Regions from separate parts of the Homo sapiens genome. Here regions 2, 3 and 4 are each linked to region 1. The links are contacts of gene promoters, found by promoter capture Hi-C in blood cells and fetal thymus (Javierre and others, 2016). All regions are on one chromosome and are shown on one strand. The core of a region is centred on a gene start or on the middle of the fragment in contact, and the rest is flanking DNA. Distances in the headings are between cores, read along the strand shown.

Region 1 (6,534 bases), core at 2,062-4,561:
AAGATAAATAAGACAGTCCTTCCTCTCAAGAAGTTTATGTCCAGCATGGTACGGGACACAGACAAGAAACGAGATTCAGTATTGTGACTGCAATAAACACAAGGGGCCACAGAAACACGGATGAAGGGCACCTGGCCTAGACTGGAACAGGAGGGGGTGGGGGTGGCAACAGGAAACTGGCATCAAGGCAGGCGTCTGGGGGATGGCATCTGATCTTAGGCCTATAAACTCCCATTCTCTCATTTGAAAAATGTGGTTAATAAATAGCATCGCCACCACTGGACAGTAGTGAGGGTTTCATGAAATGGTTCACATTAAGGATTTCCACGGTACCTGACAGAGATTGTGTTCAACCAGGCTTAAACTTAAAAGAGAAGTCTGATCAAACACGAAATCTCAACACCTGTGCCTAGCAACTCACGTGCTTTACCACTGATCACACAACAGACACCAGCTTCACAATTACACACAATATTGTTTTAAATCAACTTTTATTTTTTAATAATGAGACAATGTTAAGCCCTACTCTGCATGTTAACAGCCTAATTCCTTGGTCATTAAAATTTTCTTCTCCATTACCTTAAACATACCTTTCTCTGACATTTCTAATATACAGTAATGTTCTTAGTCTTTTGATACAGAAGGTGAAAAAAAAGAAAAAAACCTAACAATTACTGAGTTTTTAACATGGACCTGACATTTACATTGATACTGTGTTCAATGCTCATAATAACCCTACAACCTGGACACAGTCCTCCCCATTTTACCTTCAGGGAAACTGAGGTTGAAAAGGCAGTCTGTGTAAAGTTTCATAATTAGCATTAAAAAGAGCTGGAATTTGAACCTAGACCTGATTCCACCTAGTCAACTGACTTGCTGCATCAGAGATAAGCAAGAGAAAACAAAAGGAACCCCTCCCCCTTGTCCCTACCTCCAAGACTGTCCTATTCAATGGAACCTGCACACTTAGATTTCACCACAGCCAGGAGAACATCTTGAATGCCCTGCCAGGAGGGAAAGCCAGCCAGTAGTAACCAAAGCTCTGTCTTCTCCAACAACTAGAGGAGCACTTAAGTGGGTAATTTCCTGTCCATCCCCATTCCTAGCTACAGGCAGAAGTTGCATAATCAACAGTCACTATAAATCACAACTACTTTTCATAACTTCTCTCTTCATATTCTCTTTCGGTTTCACCACAAGCTAACATATTTCCCAAGCCTAAGTTTTTATCACAGAGTAGTCTAGTTTCAAGATCAATAAGGCTATTCTTCATACTCATTTCACGCTTAATACAATTCCATGCCTTAGTAAATTCCCTAACCCAAGTGCTCAGAATTAGCGATGGGTTCCACAAAACACATTTGAGAAATGTATTTGTCAACCTGCTACCTTGGAGAGCAACAGAGAGATTTGATGGCTAGCCATCTGAACTTTTACTTGCTGGATTTTAATACTGGTTCTGACACTCACTGCTTCATGTCAGGCAAGTTTCTGAACTTTTCTGTAACAAGAAGGGTAAGTGTCCTCACGCATACTCTGCAACTCTAAGTTGGCTTCTGGAAAGTGTTTCTAAGTGCTATTGAAATCCAAGTTTACAACTCTTACTTGGAAGCAGGAGCTAAACTTGAGTGCCTCTTTAATCCCAATGTTTCACAAACGACATCTTTTTACCTCCCAAGCCTCTCAAGCTCTTGTTTGGAGCATGCTTCTAACTTTTTTCTCATTTCCACAAAAATAAAGATTTAACAGAGTGTTCATGCGACTCTTCCATTTTCATTACCATAAGCAAACTTTTCTAGTTTCATTCAGCAGATGTCTCAAGGCTGCTGCAGCGCATCTCATACATATTTTGTAAATGAGAAGCCTAACCACACGGGGGACTGCAAGGCTGGGCAAGGGTCACACTGCACGGGCATCACCTGGACATGAGATGCAATGTTTGAATAATTATTAGTTTCACCCTTAAGGCCCTTCTCCTTTCAAACTTCCCTAGTACAATTCTCAAAATGCTGAAATAAACACATTCCACAAACTTTCTTGTAAGAGGGTTTAAAGTGTCCTAGGAAAGTTGTTTTACAGAAAAGCCTATGCTGTCAACTTTGCTTTTTAATGCCCTTAAACAATTCTATTAGTCACAGAGGAAAAAGTGAACATTTGTTAGTAATTAGAGATAAAACATCTCCAGTTCTGGGGCAGAGGAAGGGAGAGGCCACAAGAGGACCTGGCTGGGAGGGGAGATAGAGTCGAAAGCCACACACCCAAATTGGACCGCTTAAGAGTTGCACTTTCCAAAGTCAACTTCTAAGTCTACAAGGACAGCAACAATGTTTCAGTGGATTCTGAAGTTACATGTATCAACAATTTCCCCGGAAAGCTAACCCTCCACCGGGAACTCCAGGTGAATGAATGAGTGAGGGAATTCGCCAGATTGAGTTACAAAGCCTTTCCAACGATTATCAAGAGCAGGTGCTCGGTTACAACACAGAGGTATCCTCCTTCACAGCCTTTGGACCTTGCTGCGTGGAGATTTTCACAGATAAGAGGGGGGAAATAGAGAGACAGGCCTTCCTCCCCGGCCATCCACACCTTAGGTGGCCACACCATGAGCGGCCCCTCCCTCTAAGAACCTCACGCGACTTCTGTGGGGGCCGCAGGCCTCAAGCGGCCAGGCTGCAACCTCTCCGGACCTGCCAACTTTCAGGGGCGCCCCAAACATGCCCAAACATGGGGAGGTGCTTCCGGGGCTTTCCCACTCCCCTTCCCCACAGTTGAAGGACCATTTTCAGGGGCTCTCCGTAAACCCGGGGAGGGGGCCGCCCTGTAATCTCAGCTGTTCCGACCCCCAGGTGAGGAGGGGACACCTGACCCCCGGCGCCCTGCCACCCCGCGCGCACCCCGCCCCCGCGCCTCCCTGGATCGCCATAGCAACCGTCCCCCTCCCCGCGTGCCGGCGTCACGCGGGGCGCCCCTCTGGTCTCGGCAACAAGTCCCCCGCGCGGCCCGCGGCCTGCAGCCCTGGCCCGGCCTCGCCGCCCCGCGCCCGGCCCGGCTCCGCCCGGCCCGGCCGCACTCACTTGATCCTGGAGCCCATGGTCCCCAGGCCTCCTCATGGGCCCGCGGGCCCCGCTCGGCGCTGCGCTGCCCGCCCGCCCGCGGCCGACCGGCCTCCCTCTGGCGCTCTCCCCGCCCCTTCCTCCCTTCCCTCAGGCTGGGGCCCGCCCGCTCGAGGCTCGCTCCCTCGCCGCCGCCGCCGCCTCCAGGGGTTAATGTACTCGCTCCAGCCCGGCGAACGCCATGGTCGCCGGCGCGCGTGCCCGGCGCGCGCCGCCCCCTCCGCCTCTCACCACCGCCCCTCCCGCCCGCGCTGCCGCCGCCGCTGCCCGCTGGGGCTGCTGGGAAGTGTAGTCCGCTCGCGGGGGCGGGGCCGTGGCCGGTGGGGGCGGGGCGGGAGCGCGGTCACCCGCACGTCTCCCAGGGCGCGGGCCCCGGAGGACTCTGGCGTTCCGTTGCAGGCCCTTACACATCTGCACCCCACTGCGCCCCGCTGGAAACCTCCACTCACAGCCGCCCTGAAGAGACCCTAATCCTCTCATGGAGACCCCAAGCCCTCCCGATGAAACCGCCACCAATCCTCCCATTGGAGGCCTCCCACCCAGCCTCTCTAACGGAGAGCTAATCCCCCGCCCAGGCCTCCATGAAAACACGTTTTCCCTTTAACATCCCGCACCTTCCAGTAAGTTCCGTGCAGAACCTCTTCTCCATCACACCGTCCACTTCCCCATCTGAAGGCCTTTCCTCTTCCTTTCCCCTTAGAGCTTGAAGGAGACCCCACATACCTACAGGAAAGCCACCTGGGGGCTTCGTGGACCCACGTGGTGGCTCAGCTCTGCCCTCCCGCTGAGGACCTCTGCCTCCCTTTATCAGCCGTTTTGGGAACTCCAACATCGAAGCCTCCTGTTAACACAACAGTCCCTGATAGAGATTAACTCAATGCAAATGAAAGGATTTGAGAGCCGAGATCACCAGCCTGCTACCTACCCCTGCTCCCCCTTGGGATTCACTTCCATGAACACCTCAATTTCATCCCCTCTAGGGCCAGAGGGATCATAAAGGAAGCAATAATCACAGCTACCATTAGCCACCCTTTAATGAGCGGGTGAGTGCCCTTTCTGCATCAGACACAGTATTTCCGTACATCATTAGTGCCAATCCTCACAATAATCCTGTGTTCATCTCCCTAATTTACAAAGAGGAAACTGAGCCACATTCCCAAGGTCACATAACTAGCAACGAGTGAAGAAGCCAAGATTAGTGTCCAGACTGAATCATTCCAGACACCTGTGACATAGTCATGCTTTAAGGTGGCACCTTTGGCCACAAGTCCAAAGACATTTTTAATATTAGGCTTTTTTTCCTTTTTTTTTTTTTTTTTCCAATTTTCTGTCCCGAAATGCCATTCATCACTTCTGCCATTTTAGTTCTTATAAATGCATGGAGTGCCTCCCCACCCTACCCCCACCCCATAGCCTCTACGTAACTGGTCCTGCGTCCTAGCTCCCGGCCAGGATGGGAGGAAAGAAAGCCAGAAGATAAGTCGTAGAAGACTTCTTCTGTTGGAGTCACCTTCTGAATAAAGATAGTTTCTCCCTTTTGCCTCTGCCTTTAGGTTGTTGAAGTCAAAGGGTAAACTTTTTAAAATGAAAACCAAAAAAAAAGTGAAAATGTCCAAACTGTCATTTTGAATTTAAAGTCTTATGCACCCAGACACCAATACCGACTTGTAAACACCCCCAGGAGCAAAGCTCTGCTAGACAGGCAGGAGCTCTGTGGTGTTTATTCACCTATGAAACTTCTCCAAGGAACAGTTGCTATCAAGATCTTCCCTGGAATGGGAGCCAGTTCAAAAGCTCTGAGCAGGAGACTATAAATAAAACAAAGTTATTGGTGGAGGGCAAAGCTGGCTGCTTTTCAAAGGAGGTTGTAGCCATCCTGGCCACAAATATGTCTGGGTGCCTGCTGGGTGGGGTGTGTGTGTGTGTGTGTGTGTGTGTGTGTGTGTGTGTGTGTGTTGGAGAGGGAGGTAGAAGGTGGGGATTATGTGTCTGCTCAGGTGGCCTCAGAGACAGCAGGGTGGTCTGAGGAGAGAGCACTGGACTGGGAGTTAGGAACGTGGCTTCTAATTCTGGCTTCAGCATTGACTGGCAGATTTTATGCAAATGATTAGACAAGTGTATGTTTTAGTTTCCTCCCCCGTAAAATGGGCAGAGAGAGTGATGAGAAGCTTCCATCATAAGAGCGAGTGTAACATAGGAGCAAAGAGCACAGGCTCTAGAACCAGACTGCCAGGGTTTAAATCTCAGCTCTACCTCTTACTAAATATATGGCCTTGGGTGAATTATTCCTTCTCTGTGTGTCTCAGGTTCTCTGTCTGTAAAATGGAAATGGTGATAATAATAGACCTATTTTAGTGAGTTGACACGAGGATTAAGTGAGTTAGTGACATTTATAAAGTATTTAAACAGTGATTATCACATATTAAGTACTCAAAAATTAAAAGCAACTATTATATACAAAACACTTAGCACCGTTTGGCTTTTATTATTAAAATTAATAAGGCAACCAGTGGCTGGGCATGGTGGCTCACACCTGTAATCCCAGCACTTTGGGAGGCCAAGGCGAGTGGATCACTTGAGGCCAGGAGTTCAAGACCAGCCTGACCACCAACATGGTGAAAACCCATCTCTACTAAAAAATAGAAAAAATTTAGCCGGGTGTGGTGGCAGGCGCCTGTGGTCCCAGCTACTCAAGAGGCTGAGGCAGGAGAATCGCTTGAACCCAGAAGGCAGAAGTTGTAGTGAGCCGAGATCACGCCACTGCACTCCAGCCTGGGCAACAGAGCAAGACTGTCTCAAAGGAAAAACAAAGGCCGGGCATGGTGGCTCATGCCTGTAATCCCAGGACTTTGGGAGGCTGAGGCGGGCAGATCATGAGGTCAGGAGATGGAGACCATCCTGGCTAACATGGTGAAACCCCATCTGTACTAAAAAAAAATACCAAAAATTAGCTGGGCGTGGTGGTGGGCACCTGTAGTCCCAGCTACATGGGAGCCTGAGGCAGGAGAATGGCGTGAACCCAGGAGGCGGATTTTGCAGTGAGCCGAGATCATGCCACTGCACTCCAGCCTGGGCGACAGAGCAAAACTCCGTCTCAAAAAAAAAAAAAAAAAAGTACCCAGCTCCGTGGCTTGTTCCTGTAGTGCCAGCTACTCAGGAGGCTGAGCCCAGGAGTTTAAGGCTGAGCCTAGGATTTTGAGGCTGCAGCACGCTATGATCATGCCCATGAATAGCCACTGCACTCCACCCTGAGCAACATAGCGAGGCCCCATCTCTGAAATAAATAAATACATTTTGTAAAACTGATCAACATAATAATAAAGAGTACCATGCTTGGATTCGGGAGACCTGAGTTCTCAGCCCAACTTGTTTGTTCACGTTCTGTATCAGTTAGAATTCAATTCAACTGTAAATGATAGAG
Region 2 (5,982 bases), core at 1,936-4,435, 1.8 Mb before region 1:
AAGCTTCTGACTGCTTTTTCAATGGGGATGTGTCATAACTCCTAAGCCAATGAGGTCCAAAATGTATTTAACTCGCTCTCCAAACGGGCTCCTTTTTCTGGCTTCACCAGTACTATTGCCACGCTGCAAATCTGACTTTGATTCTTCAACCTTCCCTACCTCCAATATCTAATCCATTGCTAAGTCTGATCAATTCTAGATATACTTGTTCTTTGCTCTCTGTAAGCACAGTCTCTGTAAGCACCAATTACACTGGGATCATTAACATCTTTCTCAATAATTTTAAGAGCCACTGAGACTAGTCTCCCTGCTTTTCTTTTTCTTTCTTCAATCCATTCTTCACACAGCTGCTACCGTGATCTCCCTAAATGACAATTCTTATTTTACTCTGCTATTATATTAGCAACCAAACTCTCATTCAGCCTTAACAGCAGAATAAAGCCTAAACTTCTTAACGGGTACTGAAAGGCTTCTGGACCCAAACTATCTTTCCACCCTTCTCACCACAACATTTCAAAAAGGGACTGACTATTTACTGTTCTCTCAAAACACTGAACTCCTTTTTGACTCTCTGCATTTTCCCATCTCCTTACTTTTGCTCAGACCCTACCCTCACTTAGAGGGGTCTTCTCTTCATCTCCGCCCATAAATGCCATTCTTCATATGCCATTTAGTCATGTCTTACATTATGTCCAAAAAGTGCTTTCTCTATTCCCTTTATAGTTTCAGAGAATTTTATAGCTGGGATCACCTCATCTTACAAATAACCATGTCTGCAAATGCTAAAATCAAGTAATCAAGGTGACCGGCAGGTAGGCCTAGAATTTAGATACAACTTCAAATCTTTTCCTAAACCACATCTTCCCCCTTTCATAGTATTTAATCACACCTTGTCTTGTATTTTAGTTATTTATGTAATTATTCGTATGTTCATTCAATTGTGTGAAGACTAAAGGCAAATGTATTTCAGATACATCAGTTGTATGAAGTAGAACTTCAGATGTTTGTTGAACCTAATAAAAATTGCAACAAGAAATACAGCAACTCAAGATTAACCCAGCTACATGGGGTGGGGGCAGGGGGGTGGTTCGCCGGGGGGAACAAAAGAGTGGGGGCCACATGGCAGCTCCCCTCTGCCACCTCAGAGTAAATGTCACTTTAATATAATAAAGTCCCTGAACATAGCTAATAATTTCTTCCTCTGAGGAAAATAACAGTTGCCACTCTCACAGGCATCTAAGATTAAATGAAGCATTGCAGGTAGAAGACTTAACATACGGCCAGGCGCGGTGGCTCACGCCTGTAATCCCAGCACTTTGGGAGGCCGAGGCAGGCAGATTACGAGGTCAGGAGATCGAAACCATCCTGGCTAACACGGTGAAACCCCGTCTCTACTAAAAATACACAATATTAGCCGGGTGTGGTGATGAGCGCCTGTAGTCGCAGTTACTCGGGAGGCTGAGGCAGCAGAATCGCTTGAACCCGGGAGGCGGAGGTTGCAGTGGGCCAATATCGCGCCACTGCACTCCAGCCTGGGCAACAGAGCGAGACTCTCAAAAACAACAAAACAAACAAACAAAACACTTAACATAGTGCCGGGTATATCATTGCTGGTACATCATTTCTAGTCTTGGCCTTCCTCTCCTTTAATATAGCCTGTTCTACTATCCAGCCCTGCCATGACACTCCTCTGCCTTAAAACCTTCCACTCTTCCCACCACCTCCCTTACTGGATCAAGTCCAAACTGTTTGGTCTGGCCTTGTAGAAGCTGCTTCCAAGTCCTATCTCAGCCCAAGTTGCCTCTCCAGGCTCAGCACCTGCTGCTTCCCACCACCACCACTAGGGTCACATCAAACTGTACTTGGCTCCCTAAACACACAAGTTCTGCTAGGCCGTCTCATTCTTGTGAGTTTTCACCCATAATATAGTGGAAAAGCATTGGTTTTAAAATCAGACTTGGGTTCACTTCCAGCTCTATTACTTACGAGCTCCGTGACCTTGGGCAAATCATTTCTACTCTCGGGGACTAATTCCTTATTTATAACGCTACGACCAATTGTGTGTGTGTGTGTATATATATATATATGACCAATTGTGTGTGTGTATATATATATGGTATATACATATATATATATACACCAATTGTGTATATATATATATGGTATATATATATACACACCAATTGTGTGTGTGTATATATATGTGTATGTGTGTGTATATATATATATATCCTACCTTATAGTGTTGCTGGGAGGATTCAATGAATTAATGCATGGAAAGTAATTAGCATCCTGCCTGGTATCTAGAAAGGACTTGATCATGTTAGCTATAATTAGTAGGGTATGTTTCTACTTCACTCCTCACAGCACTAACTACATTGTACTGTGACTGCCTCTTTATGTGTCTGTCTCCCTACTGGATTGTAAAGTCCATGAAAGCACGAAGTATATCTCTTCCAGCGTTATGTGTACACGTTAATTACTGAAATGATATCTCTTGAATAAACGAATGCTTTAAATGGGTCCTGTTACCAAACACCTTCCCAAGGCTGTGAGTAGATGCACGCTCCAATATTGTCTCATTTTCCCGCGGCTTCGTCACCCCACTCTATGCACTCTGCACCGGTGATACCACTTTAAGGTAGATGACCGTCTCCCTCGACTGTGAGCCCCTAGGGTTGTATACTCACCTCGCATGCAAGTTTGAGGATTAAGCGACATAAGCTAAGTAAAATGACTGGTTGGTGCTTAATAAAATGTATCACTATTATTCACGGAAGGAGAAATAGGTCGCTGTGGAGGGCGAAAGGGGGAGGATTCTAGAGCCACTGCAAGATGCGACAGGGTGGGGTAGAGAGGGGAGGCGACTCCCAAAGCTGCGGAGGGGACCTCCGGGGGTCGACCTGTATATGCGTTGGAGGACTGGGGAGGGGGGCCCGGGTCCCAGGATCCGCGGAGCCCAAGGGGGGCTAGGCCCAGGCCCGAGAAGCCGCAGCCCCATGTCTCCCTTGCCTGTCCTCCGGATAGCCTCACCTCATCTACTTTCAGCTCCTCTAGAGTGGGCAGCTCCACTATCCCCGGCATGACGGCTGCAGCCCCGACCCCGACGAGAAGCCCTCAGCCGCGTCGCCCCCGTCTCCTTGAACTCCCCTTTCGACCGCCGAGTGCCACACGGCGCCTGCGCATGCGCATCCGGCAACACGCAGGCGTATTGCCCTGCCCAACCACGAGCGAGGGAGCGTGCGCAATACCAAGAACTTTTCAGCCTCCAGCGGGGTGGGGCTTCGATTCGGCTCCGCCCACCCCTCCAGGTTGTCATAGTGATGCCGTATCCACTGAGACTCCGGATCCTAACAGCTGGAAGCTAAAAACAGGCGCCATGGAGTACACAGGGAGCAAATATATCGGGGAATATGTAGATGGGAGGTAAGGGGCTCATTTGATTCACTTACTATACCTTGAATAGCTGTGACTGGAAAAAGACGGCTTTTTGCTTCTGCGAAACACCTTGTGCCAGGCACTTTCACAAACTTGCCCGAGTAATTTTTTCAAGGACCATATCTAATAAGCAGCAAAGCTAAGATGCATTCATTCCATATATACTTATATGTGTGTGTGCATTGACTGTGTGTGTGTGCTATCTGCCAGTTTTAAACATAGGAATAAGAATATTTAAAATGTCAAGATCCTTGCTCTTATGGAGTTTATAATCCAGTTGGAGATGTATTGCCAATAAACAAATAAGTGATAAAATAATTACAGATAATGGTAAATGCTATAAAAACAAACACGAAGATTAGGGAAGAGAGACTGGCTAATCTGAATCTACACGGTCGCTTCCTTCCAGGAGGAGTTCACGATCTAGGGATTATTATAGAGGATTATATACACAAATCACTGTAGTGGACTAGTAGTAAAAAACAATTCAACAGTTTTTTTTTCTTTTCTTTTCCTTCCTTCCTTCCTTCCTTTTTTCCTTCCTTCCTTCCTTCCTACCTTCCTCTCTTTCTTTCTTTCTCTCTCGTTTTTGTTTTATTTTCAGACAAGATCTCGCTCTGTTGCCCTGGCTGGAGTGCAGTGGCCTGTTCACTGCTTACTGCAGCCTCAACCCCCTAGGCTCAAACAATCTTCCCACCTCAGCCTCCCAAGTAGCTGAGACTACCGGTGTGCACCACTACCCCCAGCAAATTTTTCAACGCCTTTTGTAGAGACGGCATCTTGCTATGTTGTCCAAGCTGGTCTCATACTCCTGGGCTCAAGTGATCCTCTTGCATGAGCCACCGTGCCCAGCAATTCAACAATGTTGAGTGGCTACCGAGTACCAGGCCCTGTAATTGACTCTGGGCACAATCCCTGTCTTCAGAAAGTTCATTCAAACATGATGCGACAAGTAGACATAACAGATAACTGCGATTCAGTGTGGTAAGAGCTGTAGTAGAGAGAAGCAGAGGAAACACAGAGGTGGCCACTCTTTTTTGCCAACCACCCTGGATGAAGAAAGTGGAATCTCTGTTTTTATAGCTGAGGAAACCAAGGCTGGACGATATGAAGTGGTTTGCTGAACCAGTGCTAGTTGTCGGGACTGTGAAGCACTCCCACCTTGGGGCTCTGTATTCACAAGTTGGTGGAATTCCAGGGCATTCTGAGTTAATAGGAAAGAGGGATCTGTGGTCTGGACAGGGATAGGAGATAGATTCCTAGAGAGGGTGGTAGGAATGCTATGGGATGCTATCTCTCTAATCATTACATCAATTTTGCAAGGAAGATGTTATTATCTTTCCAGGTAAGAAAGGTGACCCTTACAGGGCTTGAGACACTTATCCTACTCAGCAGGTAAGTGGCAGAGGTGCTTGGTGTGTACTCCCTCTCACTACTCAGTGAGATAGTTCAGGCTGACCTTGCAAATAAAGGAACAGAAGTTAGGAGAAGCAAAATGACTGGCCCACCATTATGGATACACAGCTAGGAAGTAACAGAGTCAGGATTTGAACCCAATCCTCTGTCCAAACCACATTCTTACTTTTCACAAGGCTCTGCTACAGTGAAGGTGGTAGAATTTTGGCAGATAGAGATGGGGTATTGGGCATTTTAGGCACAAAAAGTTGAGAAACTACATTAATTTTCGATGGGCTGTATATGGGTGAGAGAGAAACACACAGACAAGGTAAAAGACGGAAGGCTTTCAACCATTTGCCTTTGGCCTTCTGTGTATTTTCATTGGGTTTGTGTGCTGAATCAGCCATTTCCATGCTTTGGCCCTAGGAATTTGGGCTTTGCTTGAGGTTGTCTGGTACCTCTGTAACCACGATAGGGATTCCCAGACCTGAACAGGGCTTCCCAATTTCCCATAACTAGCAAGAAGTCAGCAGTTTTTCACTTGTTATACTTCTTTTCATAAGTTGGACATGTGTTGTTCTGTACTGATTTTGTATTTTTAACAACAGTTAACTAGAATTCTATTTGGGGCATCTCAAATTTCAGCATGTAATGAGAGGATGAGACAGGTCTGGGCTCAAGTCTGCCATTTGCTTGTTGTACACTTAATTAACCATCCATACCTCAGTTTCCTCATCTGTAAAATGGGAAAGCAATGCACATTCAGCAGCAGTGTTCCAAGGAATATGTAATGATCATATATGGATGTTATTTACAAATGGTAGATACTCAATCAATTTTTTTTAATTTAGGGAGGGGATATTTTCCTCTTGGAGTTTAAATGAATAGAGTAACCTCTCTATACAGTAGGAAGTTGATATTTAACGTTTGGTTTAAAAAGTTTATGTAGACTCTCCATGGCTGATAGGAACATCAAATGGTACGACTGCTTTGGAAAAGTTTGGCAGTTTCTTGAAAAGTTAAACAGCCATTCCACTTATAGGTATTTACCCCAGAAATGAAAGTGTATATATACACAAAGACATGTATACAAGTACTCATAGCAGCCTTATTTATAATAACCAAAACTAGAAACAAACCCAAATG
Region 3 (6,484 bases), core at 1,457-3,956, 1.0 Mb before region 1:
CTTTACTGTGCCTCCCATAACTTTGGAACTGTTAGAAGTTCAGAAAGAATGATTATGTGTAAGCCGACAAAATATAAGAAACAAAGATTGGGGGGATGAAATATTACAAATGCTGCATCTCTACAGAAAGACTTGCGTAATAGAATAATACAAACTTTATATAACAAGTCTGTGATTATAATTATAGTAGACTTTGCCTTTTGAGATCAGGCCTAGATAGTTTTTCACCACTGCTTCTGCCATGGACAGAGGTTAAGTGCTTTTTGAGAGCAGACTTGTGCTTGAAATCCATATCACAACAGTGGCATTTGTATGGCCGATCCCCACTGTGTATGTTCAAGTGGTCCTGAAGTGTGCTTTTGGCAGTAAATGTCTTCAAGCACACAGTACACTGAAAGGGCCGTATGCCCATGTGTCCTCGGATGTGTCGGTTGAGATTTTTCTTCTGTGTAAATGTTTTTCCGCACTGTAAGCATAAGAATAGTTTATGCATTTTAAGGTGGCGCAGATAGTTTTCAACATGAAGAAAGCCTCGAGGACACCTGGGGCACTGGTGCCTCAGTGAATAACCTTCCTCCAGATTCTGAATCTCACTCACTGTACCATAACTTCCTTCAGTATTCTCACAAAATAAGCCCTGATCTTGATTCCCAGGAACTTCAGCCACTCTGCTCTCAACTGTAGAATTGATCAATGAATGCTGTGTTTCAGAGAAATACATGCTTGCTTTTGAAGAGGTACAAGGCTGTGAAAACTGCCCATTTTCGACACCAGCTGTACTGATGGATTCTACATGAAGGATACAAATTTCATTGTCTTTAAAACCTATGTCTACTGTAGACAGCTCTGGTGACTTCATTTCCTTTCTCTCTGATGTCAGACTCTCTACTGTAGACTGCAAAGCATTGCTTTCCTCTTCTTTAACATGGAAATCTATGTTTACAGGACTATCTTCTGAAATTTCAATTATCTCACAGTCTTTATCAGAATTTTCATCTTCATTCTTAACATCAGGATCAGAAGACTGACACAGGTCAGTGTGTTGGTTGTTGTTTTTCATAGAAAGATCAATTTCCAGATACTTTGACAAAGCTTCTGTGCACTTTTCCACAATGTGAACCATCTGAAGGTAACTGGCAGCAGTCAAGTATTTCAAAAGCTCTTTCCTTTTAACTTCAAGTGCTCCAGTATAGCAAGACAGTAACAATTTTCTGCCAACTTCTGCACTCTGTAAGATGGTGATTCTGACATGTTTTGACTGTGTGAGTAAAAACTGATCTCTCATAAAAGTGGAGCAAGCAGCCAAAATCACCTTGTGCCCCTGGAACTCAGTGTCATTAATGTAAATTGATACATCACAAAATAAATTCTGCTGTCTCAAAAGATTCATTTTCTGCAAGACCACATCTCCTTGCTGTTCAAACTGGAAATGCAGAACATCAGACTCAGCAGCCATGATCACAATCTAAGCAAAATAAAACACAAACATTGATGTAATAAGGATAGGGAATGCTTTCCCATGCTGTAATGGTGAAAACAAACGAAAAACCCCAAACCTGAATTAGGAAGAAGAAGACTCAAAGTCTAATGTAGGTGTTATGAACCTTTATGCCACCATCTCAAAACGAGAACTTTATAATGCACTTCTCTATGATCTCATAGCACATTTTTCATAACTTTGTTACAACATTCATTACAATGAATTGTAGTGAACAGTTTCTAGCTTGTTTCTTTTGCTAAATGTTGTGTGCCTTGTGGTCAAGAACAATCTATCAATTTTGAATATCCAATATAAGCACTGTGACCACCAAAAAGTTGATTTAACATAATATATCCAATTAGCAACTTTAACGTAATCTCCAAACTTCCTACTCCCCACCACTACAACAGGTCCTCCTTCCGGTTCACCTGGACAACTGCAATGTCTTCCAACAGGTCTTCTTTATACCACACTCTTCTGTATGCCAGATTACCCGCCTGAGTGCCACCAGGATTAACAACCCTTATTTTATTTTATTTTTAATTTCCCTTTTCTGCTTTAAATCTTCTATCGTTCTTCTCTACCTCCGGGACAGTCCAGATTTCTTAGGAAAGAATACGAGACCCATCACGATTTGGCTCTAACCCATCTTTATGGCTTTATCACCTTCTATTCTCTTTTTCATACTCGAACCTCGTTCAATACTAAATTTTTCCATCATTACCCAGACAAAAAGACACGAATACACATTTCTTACATTCGCGTTTCCAGTTCCTTTTTTCAGCTAGTGATTAGGCTCCTTTAAGCCCAAATCAAGTAAAACTAATATGACTCCACCTCCCGTTTCAACCAGAGAGAGTCAGCTGCTCTCTGAGCACCGCGAGATGGTGCCTGATGCATCTGTGTTCCTGCACCGAGCTCAGGGGCCCACACAGAGCAGGAGGAGCTCAGGGAACATCTGCTGAACTGAAACCGGATGCCAGGTTCAGCACACAGGTATTCTGGAGGCAACCCTGCGAAGGGCCAAGGCCCTGTCGGCCCAGTGGTTGCAGCACAAGATTAGCCACTCCGGGGCCGAGCCCAGCTGTCCTCCTCCTCCTCCTCCTCTTCCTCAGGCACCCTCCACCTGAGGAATCTACTTTGCACTCACTCACCGACTCAGAAAACTAGAGTCAAGGATTCCGCGGCAGCGTCTGCCCAAGCCGGAAGATGGACTTAGCCTGGAAGAAAACACATCCGGTGCCAACCAGCTTTATTCTTTACTGGGGCCCTCTAGGCGCCCCGGAAGGACATTCTGAGACGGTCTTCCTTCCTCACTTCCCCCCTCTTGGAATGACAGAAAGGCTCCTGAATGCCGGCAAGCCCCATCTCTCTTGTCCCAGTTTCGGCACTCGAGCCGTTTTCCCCCACCATCCCTTTTTTTTTTTAAGACGGAGTTTCGCTCTTGTTGCCCAGGCTGGAGTGCAATGGCGCGATTTCGGCTCACTGCAACCTTCGCCTCCCGGGTTCAAGCGACTCTCGCTCCGCAGCCTCCCAAGTAGCTGAGATTACAGGCGCCCGCCACCACGCCCGGCTCATTTTTGTATTTTTAGTAGAGACGGGGTTTCACCATGTTGGCTAGGCTGGTATCGAACTCCTGACCTCAGGAGATCCGCCCGCCTCGGCCTCCCTAAATGCTGGGATTACCGGGTTGAGCCACCGCGCCCAGCCGAGCCATTTCCTTTTGTGAGTCCTCCTGAACATCCGAATTGGAGACGGGGTTTGAGGTTCGGTTACGGCACGTCTGTCAGAGTAACCAGACCTTTTATGGATTATTCTGGGACGATTCCTCTCCTTATTGGGGCCACCTACAACTTGAAAGGTGGCAGAGCAGAAACTATCATAAAGATCCGTATTCGAGATTGCCTAGATAATGCCCCATCAGGAGATGGCCCCAACCTCTGGATCTAGCTTCACACTTAAATGCGTTCCTCCATCCCAAAACTTTTGGCCCAGCTGTTTCCTCTGACGTGCCCTAGCCTTTTCCCCAGGCTTTTTTTTTTTTTTTTTGAGACGGAGTCTCTCTCTGTCGCCCAGGCTGGAGTGCAGCGGCAGGATCTCGGCTCACTGCAAGCTCCGCCTCCTGGGTTCACGCCATTCTCCTGCCTCAGCCTCCCGAGTAAGCTGGGACTTCAGGTGCCCGCCACTTCGCCTGGCTAATTTTTTTTTTTTTGTATTTTTAGTAGAGACGGGGTTTCACCGTGTTAGCCAGGATGGTCTCGATCTCCTGACCTCGTGATCCGCCCGCCTTGGCCTCCCAAAGTGCTGGGATTACAGGCGTGAGCCACCGAGCCCGGCCTTCCCCAACGTATCTTTAAAGAACCCGTTTATAAATCTCATCATCCTGAAGCCATCCTGAACTGCCCTAAGATAATTGGTTCCCAGTTTGAAACCTGTAATCCCTTTTCCTGCCTTCATTATTGCACTTAACACGCCTGTATTAATTTGTGCCTCATCTAGGCAGAGTTATTTAGGACAGTGGCTTACTGATCTTTGTATTCTCGAAGTCTAGCACTTGGTAGGCATCAAGTATTTGTGCTGAATGAAGATATGACTGAAGAAATTCTTTTTCTTTTTTTTTTGAGACAGAGTCTCACTCTGTGGTCCAGGCTGGAGTGCAGTGGCACGATCTCGGCCTACCGCAACCTCCGCCTAGCAGGTTCAAGCAATTCTCCTGCCTCAGCCTCCCGAGTAGCTGGGATTACAGGTGCCTGCCACCACACCCAGCTACTTTTTGTATTTTTGGTAGAGACGGGGTTTCACCATGTTGGCCAGGCCGGTCTCGAACTCCTGACCTCAGGTGATCCACCCGCCTTGGCCTCCCAAAGTGCTGGGATTACAGGCATGAGCCGCCGCGCCCGGCCTCTGCACCAATTCTATTCCTTTTTTTTTTTTTTTTTTTTTTTTTTTGAGACAAAGTCTCGCTCTGTCGCCCAGACTGGAGTGCAGTGGTGCGATCTTGGCTCACTGCAAGCTCCGCCTCTCGGGTTCACGCCATTCTCCTGCCTCAGCCTCCCGAGTAGCTGGGACTAATGCCCTGCCACCAGGCCCGGCTAATTTTTTGTATTTTTAGTAGAGACGGGGTTTCACCGTGTTAGCCAGGATGGTCTCGATCTCCTGACCTTGTGATCCACCCGCCTCGGCCTCCCAAAGTGCTGGGATTACAGGCGTGAGCCACCGCGCCCGGCCGCCTCTGAACCAATTCTTAAAGGCAGTTGCTCTGCTCCTCCAGCAACAGGTTCTCGTGGAAGTAAATGAATCTAGTAACAACTTTCTGATTAATTCGTATTTTTTTCTGAAGGCAAGCTCAGCATGCTTAATATGTATTTTTAAGACTATACATAAAGAAGACCTTCCTGTATTCAAAGTAAAGCAATTAAAAAAGAATAGAAGGAGGGGAGAGTGAGAAAATAACCAATGACACCAGAGCTTTAATCGTCACACTTTTATTAAGGAAACTTCCCCATAATAAGTGAAGAGGTAGTTCATAGTATGTCTAACATACAACAGATTTAGAACAGCTATTCATGAGCTGAAATAAAATCTTCTGGGTTGTTTAGGACAGTATTTTAGAAGCAGTGACATTGGTCACCTTCCATTTATAGATCTGCTAATAAAGAAACTTAAATTAAAATCATATCTGATTTACCTCAGAGCCACTTCAGTTTGGAGTTTAGTATTAAATAATAAATAAATAACTGACAGAGTAATTTTTTTTTAAACCAAACTATGGTAGAGAGTCATCTCCTTTTTAGTTCTCCTGGGGATCCATAAAATACAAATGCTGAATGATAAAGGTTTTAAAAATCTTCCTCCTCTACAGAAATATGACTAGTTTTGAAAGTCATCTTCCTCTGTAAAATACTGGATATCAGTAACTTGACTTCTTTGCAATATAATCTAACAAACACGTATAAGCAAAGAAGGAGGAAAGTGAAGTTCCACAAAAATTAGAAAAATGTCTCACAGAAACAGAACACCTCTCCAGCCAAAAATGGAGGAGACTGTAAATCACTTCAGTGGTTTGCATTTTCAAAAGGTGAGAACTAAATGTTTTACTGATACAAAAGCACAAAGTTGCTGATTTTAACTGATCGAATACAGCAAGGCAGCTTTCTTTATTATTTCTAGTATAAAAGCAAATTGAGACTTTGTTTCACTAAGACCACATGAGACTATAAGCTCCATGAGGGCAGGGACTATATCAATCTTACCTTCATTATCCTCAGTATCTAGCATAGTGTCTAGCAACAGTAGGTGCTTAACTAATGTTTCTTGAACAACTGAATGAACCCAGAAATAGTCTCCAACCAAAGAGACCAATCTTATTTGAACCCGTGCCTTTTAGTCTTCAAACCAGTAACAAAAACAAGACATGAATGTGAGCAAACGAAGCACTCCAACTTGAAATTTCCCTGTGAAGAAATGATGTTGACAGAAAATACCAAAAAATGCTGTTTGGTTGACAGGGTAGAGTCTCACTATTGCATAGAATTGGTACTCTTTGGCTGGATCATGTAAAAATCACAATGCTAGGAAGCATCATTAGACCATATAATGAGTGATGTTAGGCATAAGGTACCTATTAGTCTTACCACTCAACTGTATTATCATTTTAAATATTTGAACAAAAGACAAAAATCATACTTCACATCTGACTCACATGATGATAATTTACATATGATAACAATGATACATGTAAACGTATCAAATATAACAATTGAAGATCCCCTCTGACTATGCAAGCCTAATTTTTCAAATCTGCATGCACTCTCATAGCTCAAAAATAAAAACAGAAAATCCTGATGGAAACTAATAAACAGTTTTCCACACAAAATCAACTTCGCATTTAGATTCTTCTCACATTATTCTTGCTTTTTCCCTCCCTAAACAAACCTAGCAAATCACTCACTTGGATGGGAAGAATATAATATTCATCTAACTAAAAAATAATTAATATAAATC
Region 4 (6,079 bases), core at 638-3,137, 1.8 Mb before region 1:
AATCCCAAGCCCCAAGGCTGGGGGCCCAGACACTTGGAGTCAAACTTCCCCAACGGCTACACCCTATCCACCTGGAAGTCGGTTCTGCCTGATCCTTGACTTCCCTCCAAACCAAATGCACTTTTTCCTATTGGGACATCAACCCTCTGACCACATCAGTCCTTTCTGTGGCCATCTCTCTGTATGTTCCAACTTAATGAAACCATTACCGAGCATCTACCATAGCCAAGGCACAGGGCTAAGAACCTGAGTCCTCTGTTACCCGCAGCAGATCCCTGTTACCACTGGCTGTGTCCACACTCAGCTATCCTTAATCAAACTCCTGACACTCCTGAAAGCACATTAAATACCTTATATGCTGCAAATAAAGTCAAATGGCTTTATCCACGTAGCCAATTGCAACAGACACCTCTAGAGTCACTGGTGCTACATTCCATCCCCTGCCAGTCTAAAATGGGCTCAGGGATGATAACTCATGTATTCATTCACCCTTTCATTCACTGCTTACTGACACATGCCGTAAGCCAAGCCTGGAATATAAAATACAGTGCCTGATTTTATACCACTGATCATGAGGACAGTGGTGGTGCTGGTGGTGGTGATGGTGATGATGGTGGAAGAAGAGAGAAAGGAGAAGGTGGTAACGTAAGTTACCATTTATTGCAGACTTGTGCTATAAAACACTAAGTAGTGAGTCTTCTAATGCTAACAAGATGATGAGATAAGTATAATTGGCCTCACTTTACAGAGAAGGTAATAGGCTGAAGAGGTGAAGCAACTTACTCAAGGTCACACAGCTAAGTAGCAAAGTGTAGTGAGACCCTAGGCCTGTCTGCCTCCAAAATAAAAAGTGTTCCTCTGCCCAAGAGTCACACAGCAAGTGCTAAACAAATATAACTTCAATGAAGAAGTGAGAGAGCGGGTCCGGGGCCCCAGGGGCTTACAAGCTGGTGGAGGAGACAGACGTACACATATCTACAAGCAGAGGCAAATGCTGATGGCTGAGACATAAAAAGAGCTGCAGGGAGGCAGAGGAGTGAGTGGCTAACTTGACCTGGAGGGGTCTGGGGGGCCCTCTTGGAGGAAGTGATTTTGGGGGGTAGGCCTTGAAGGATGAGCACTTTGCGGCTGACAAGCAGGCCCGAGCGTGGTGCACCGCAGGAGCTCAGCCCTCGCCCGCCGACCTGACCTGGGCCGTGCCGAGACCTCTGAGGTCGTCCTGTCCACCCCACTGTGCCCACGCGGCCGGGTCGGGCCGGGCCTCACCTCCTTCCACTTGAGCTGGCGGATGCTGATCTTCAGGGCATCCAGGGAGGTCCTGGCCTTGGAGCTGTCCACGGTGACCGGCCGCTGGGAGCCGTTCTCGCCGGAACCGTGGCCCGAGCTCCGCTTGCAGCTTCGGCCCTTGTCCCGGGGCTTCCCGTGCGGGCAGAGGCCCTGCACCGGCTTCGGCTTGGACGGGGGCAGCGTGGGCGGCGGCCGCTGAAGGACCTGGGTGTTCCCCTCCTCAGCCGCACTGGGCTGCGCCGGGGCCGGGGCCAGGACCTTGGGCTGCTCCTCCCCTGCCTTGCACTCCGGTTCCCCGGCCGCGCCCGCGTCCACGCGGACCTGTTCCGCCACCGTCTCCGCTGTGGCCTCGGCCTCAGCTTTGGCCGCCGCTTTGGCCGCAGCCACCGCCTCCGCCTCCCACCGGGCCGCCAGCTCGCTCTCGGAGCTGCCCCGCCGCATGGTGCTCAGGGCCGGGGCCAGTGCCAGTGCCACCGCCGCCGCCGCCGCCGCTCCGCCGCCCCAGTCCGCCACCAAACTGCCGCCGCTGCAGCCGCTGCCACGCGTTCCCCGCCCGAGCCCGTTGCCATGATCGCTCAGGCTCGGGTTGACAGCGGCAGTCACCGCATCGAGACGGGGTCCGGGAAGGGACAATCGCCGGCCGAGCCCCAGCGACCTCATAGGCGAGGCTGCCCACGTGACCCTGCCTGTCACAGAGGCAGCGGCGGCCATGTTGGAAGAGGGCAAAGAGCCGCCAGGACCCGCCCACCCCGCGGATGCGCTGGATCTCGAGGGCGCAGAACTCGGAGTGGCGAGGAGAAGCGGGAGGGCAGATTGAGCGCGCGTGGGGCTCGTGAGCCTGGGGACTGGGAGTAAAAACAACTACCTCAAGCAGGAGGCTCAGTCCCCGCCAACACTCGCTGGGATAACTCTCGATAGGACGGAGGAGGAGCCCCCCAGTGGGACCCTCCTCAGTGCAATGGATGGGACCCTCCTCAGTGCAATGGATGGGACCCTCCTCAGTGCGATGGATGTGAGCAGCCCAGGCCCTAGGGGAGCAGAGAGTGTTCCGCTGAAGAAACCCTCTGCTGGTCCTTTGAGCGCCCCCAGATAAGAGGGGAGGCACTTTTCCCTGTTCTCAGGGAGCTCCCGATGGGATGGGGAAGTCATGGGCATGGGTAAGCCCCCTATAGATTCCCACTCGAGTTGAGGATATTAACGATTTTTTCTTTTTCTTTTCTTTTTTTCTTTTTTTTTTTTTTTTTTAGACAGGGTCTCTCTCTGTCGCCCAGGCTGGAGTGCAGTGGCGCGATCCCGGCTCACTGCAGCAGCCTCAACTTCCAGAGCTCAAGGGATCCTCCCACCCCAACCTCCCGAGTAGCTGAGACTACACGAATGTACCACCACTCCCGGCTAAGTTTTGTGTTTCTCGTAGAAACGTGGTTTCGCCATGTTGCCGAGGCTGTTCTCAAACTCCTGACCTCAGGTAATCTGCCAGCCTCGGCCTCCCAAAGTACTAGGATTACAAGCAGAACCACCGCGTCTCTTGTTTTCTTTTTTGTTTTTGTTTTTGTTTTGTTGTTGTTGTTGATGTTGTTACAGAGTTTCGCTCTTGTCGCCCAGGCTGGGATGCAATGGTGTGATCTCGGCTCATTGCAGCCTCCGCCTCCCGGCTTCAAGCAATTCTCCTGCCTCAGCCTTGTGAGTAGCTGGGATTGCAGGAGCCGGCCACCATGCCCGGCTAATTTTTTGTATTTTTAGTATAGACGGGGTTTCACCATCTTGGCCAGGCTGGTCTCTAACTCCCGACCTCAGATGATCCACCCGCCTCAGCCTCCCAAAGTGCTGAGATTACAAGCGTGAGCCACCACGTCCAGCCTGACTGCTTTTACTTATATCACTTTTTTTGTTGTGGTAAAATATAACAAAATTTGCCATTTTAACCATTTTTAGTGTACAATTCAGTGGCATTCTGTATACTCACATTGTTGTGCAACCAGCACCACTATGGGTCTCCGGAACTCTTTTATCTTACCAAACTGAAACTTTGTGTCTATGAAACAATAAGTCGGGATTCCCTTCTCTCCTAGTCCCTGGGAACCACCATTTCTACTTTCTGACTATGAATTTGACTATTCCTGGTTCCTCATGTCAGTGGAATCATACAGTATTTGTCTGGCTTATTTCACGTAGCATAATGTCCTCAAGGTTTCTCCATGTTGTAGCATGAGTCCAAATTTCACTCATTTTTAAGACTGAAAAATATTTCGTCGTGTGCATACACCACCTCGTTTTTATCCATTCATCTGTCAATGGACTTAGGTTGTTTCCACCTTTTGGCTATTGTGAAGAATGTCGGTTAACATTGGTATACAAATACCTGTTTGAGCCCCTGCTTTCCATTTTTGGGAGTTGCCATCATTTTAAAGCCAAACCAAGGAGAAAGCTCTCCCCTCCCACCTGAGGGAGCCGCATTTGTTTTTTTAGGAAGTGGGGTTGAGAAGGTGTAACAGCACCCCAGACTGACCACAGCGGCCACGACTGCACACAGGGGAACTTTGCCTCGCTCGACACTACAGGGTGAAAGAAACACAGAAGTTGTCAAGGAACGTGGCCCCTCTTCCTCTCTCATCTCTCCAGGTGTCTTGTTTCTTTGCTTTAGTCCAGGGGTTTCACTTGCTGAATAAACTGCCTTGAAATGTCCAAGTCATAAACTTAAGAGATCCAAACCTCCTTTTTAGCAGCAGAGGGCGCTCGCATCTGTTCCCTTCATGACTTTGTTTCAGAGTTTCTGTAAGCATGGTCGTCTGGCCACTTGCATGGGAACAACCCGGGGTGTTTATTTAAAATGCAGGCTCCTGGACCCCACCCCCAGAGACTGTGATGCAGCACATCTGGGTGGACCTGGGAATCTGCATGTTAAATTAGCTCCTCCGCTGATTCTAAGGCAGCGGAGGCAAGAACCACTCATAGAGTCTGATGCAAGTCCTCTGGAAATTCTTGGAGCTGTCCGTGGTATCAGTAAGAAGGCCTCACTGTCCCCCCATTTCTCTCCACAAACCTACCCCCCAAATCCTGTCCCTCCTCCTGGTGTCCTTGATCTCAGCAAGTGGCACTACCTTCATTCAGTCATCCATGCTTGAAATTTGCCGAGATCGCGCCACTGCACTCCAGCCTGGGCGACAGAGTGAGACTCGGTCTCAAAAAAAAAAAAAAAAAAAAAAAAAAAACATATATATATATATATATATATATATATATATATATATATATATATATAAAAACTGGGCATGATGGCATATGCCTGTAATCCCAGCTACTCGGGAGGCTGAGGCACAAAACTCATGAACCCAGGAGGCAGAGGCTGCAGTGAACTGAGATCGCGCCACTGCACGCCTAGGGCAACAGAGCGAGACTCATTCGAGAGAGAAAAAGAGAGAGAGAGAGAGAGATCTCCTCTTTCCTCTCTTATCTATCTCTATCATCACCACCCCAATTCAGGCTTCTGCTGATAGCTCACCTCCAGCTCTGCCACACACCCACCCATTCTCCACACCAGACCTGCCACTCTCCTGCTTAGAAACCTCCCCTGGTTTGTCACCATCTACAGATAAAGTCCAAGAACATTGATTGTCCTAAGAGGCCCTTCCTGATTACAATTTCTGAAATCAACCCCTCTCCCTGCCTCCATGCCTTTGTAAACATTGTTCCTTCTGTCTGGACTTCCCTTCCTTCATGTCTGTTCTTAGACAAACTTTTCCCAGTGCCTCAGGCAGAAATAGTTACTCTCTGTGCTCTTCTATTCACACCCATAATTCTCATCCACAACTCTCAACCCTGGTCTGTCTGTCACACTATCTAGAAATCATCTCAGCCTCCACCATTAGTCTGGGCAAGAACAAATCTTGTCTGATTCATCTCTGTATCCCCATCTCTTGGGTCTTGGAACACAGTGGCCCTTGCTTTGTTCATGGTAGTATGAACAAAGTAGTATGGATGTATTAATGAATGAGTCATTTTCAGCCTCATATGTCAAATCTGTAAGGACAATCCCATATAGAAATATTCATTTTGGCTTCACATCCCGAGACCTCTTCTGCCTCAGGGCCTTTGCACATGCCCTCTGCCTTTCTTTAGATCTCTGGCTACTGCTCCTTCATTATTCAGTGTAAATGATACATCTGCACAGATACCTCTGATCTCTTCATCTAAGTCAGACTTATTCAGATGAAATAATTATGCAAGAGAGGAAAATAGGAGGTGTCATGAGGGAGTATATGATTAAGTGCCAATGAGGCAAAGAGTAAAAAATAAAATTCATCCAGTAGCTCAAGAAATAGAGAATTTACTGTGAATTAGAAAGCTAGACCAGGCTTCCTATAAGAGAGAGACTATAAGCTGAGTCTTCGAGGTGGAGTAGGAATCAGGTTGATAGAAAGCTAGGTGGGGTGGTCACTGAAGAGCTATGGATAGGGCTGCTGCAGTCATGCAAGAGGCCTTGCGGGCGTTGAAATCCAATGTGTGCAAAGCCTCACCCATCATGGCTTTGGCCATGGGATGGGGGTGCTTTTGCCCATTGGCTTAAAGACTCCCAGGGCTCATGGAGGCCCTGTACTGAGAGGGAAGATGAAGAAAAGGTGAAGCAAGATTTAAGAAGGGGATAATCATCTGCTTCTTCAAGAGGGCAGGGAGCAGACTGGACCAGTTGAAATACAAGCCTCTGAGCAAGGGAGAAAAGAAAGGAAACAAGGCCCACTTGAGCCCGACTGTCAGGTCTTTGAATACCATGGCACCCTTGACTTCTCAGGAAATT

The links. Contacts are between HindIII fragments. The CHiCAGO score rates a contact against its expected background, and 5 or more counts as called.
Region 2: the fragment with the promoter of NDUFA8 here is called in contact with the fragment with the promoter of DENND1A in region 1 in 2 of 17 cell types (activated CD4 T cells and total CD4 T cells); the score reaches 7.3 in activated CD4 T cells.
Region 3: the fragment with the promoter of ZBTB6 here is called in contact with the fragment with the promoter of DENND1A in region 1 in 1 of 17 cell types (non-activated CD4 T cells); the score reaches 6.5 in non-activated CD4 T cells.
Region 4: a contact is called between the fragment with the promoter of TTLL11 here and the fragment with the promoter of DENND1A in region 1, in 1 of 17 cell types (total CD4 T cells). The highest score is 6.5, in total CD4 T cells.

What each region holds. Positions count from the first base shown.
Region 1 is chr9:123,926,815-123,933,348 of GRCh38, forward strand. It overlaps DENND1A (DENN domain containing 1A), which reads right to left and starts at 3,312. Exons shown (of 24, transcript NM_001352964.2): 1 at 3,075-3,312. The coding sequence starts at 3,091. RefSeq lists enhancers at 1,069-1,118, 2,169-2,248, 2,184-2,869, 2,499-2,698 and a silencer at 3,049-3,538. The HindIII fragment of the contact is 11,751 bases long and covers 1-5,279 here.
Region 2 is chr9:122,156,594-122,162,575 of GRCh38, forward strand. NDUFA8 (NADH:ubiquinone oxidoreductase subunit A8) reads right to left here and starts at 3,186. Exons shown (of 4, transcript NM_014222.3): 1 at 3,034-3,186. The coding sequence starts at 3,084. MORN5 (MORN repeat containing 5) reads left to right here and starts at 3,315. Exons shown (of 5, transcript NM_198469.4): 1 at 3,315-3,426. The coding sequence starts at 3,380. RefSeq lists an enhancer at 3,097-3,391. The HindIII fragment of the contact is 8,418 bases long and covers 2-5,982 here.
Region 3 is chr9:122,910,617-122,917,100 of GRCh38, forward strand. ZBTB6 (zinc finger and BTB domain containing 6) reads right to left here and starts at 2,707. Exons shown (of 2, transcript NM_006626.6): 1 at 2,635-2,707; 2 at 1-1,465. The coding sequence starts at 1,456. The coding sequence ends at 182. ZBTB26 (zinc finger and BTB domain containing 26) reads right to left here. Exons shown (of 2, transcript NM_020924.4): 2 at 4,950-6,484. RefSeq lists enhancers at 2,422-2,531, 2,542-2,771, 4,240-4,997. The HindIII fragment of the contact is 12,849 bases long and covers 1,091-6,484 here.
Region 4 is chr9:122,091,421-122,097,499 of GRCh38, forward strand. It overlaps TTLL11 (tubulin tyrosine ligase like 11), which reads right to left and starts at 1,888. Exons shown (of 9, transcript NM_001139442.2): 1 at 1,267-1,888. The coding sequence starts at 1,728. It overlaps LOC124902263 (a long non-coding RNA gene), which reads left to right and starts at 2,712. Exons shown (of 2, transcript XR_007061757.1): 1 at 2,712-2,752; 2 at 3,754-3,980. RefSeq lists enhancers at 1,416-2,129, 1,879-2,068 and a silencer at 1,479-1,528. The HindIII fragment of the contact is 9,416 bases long and covers 1-6,079 here.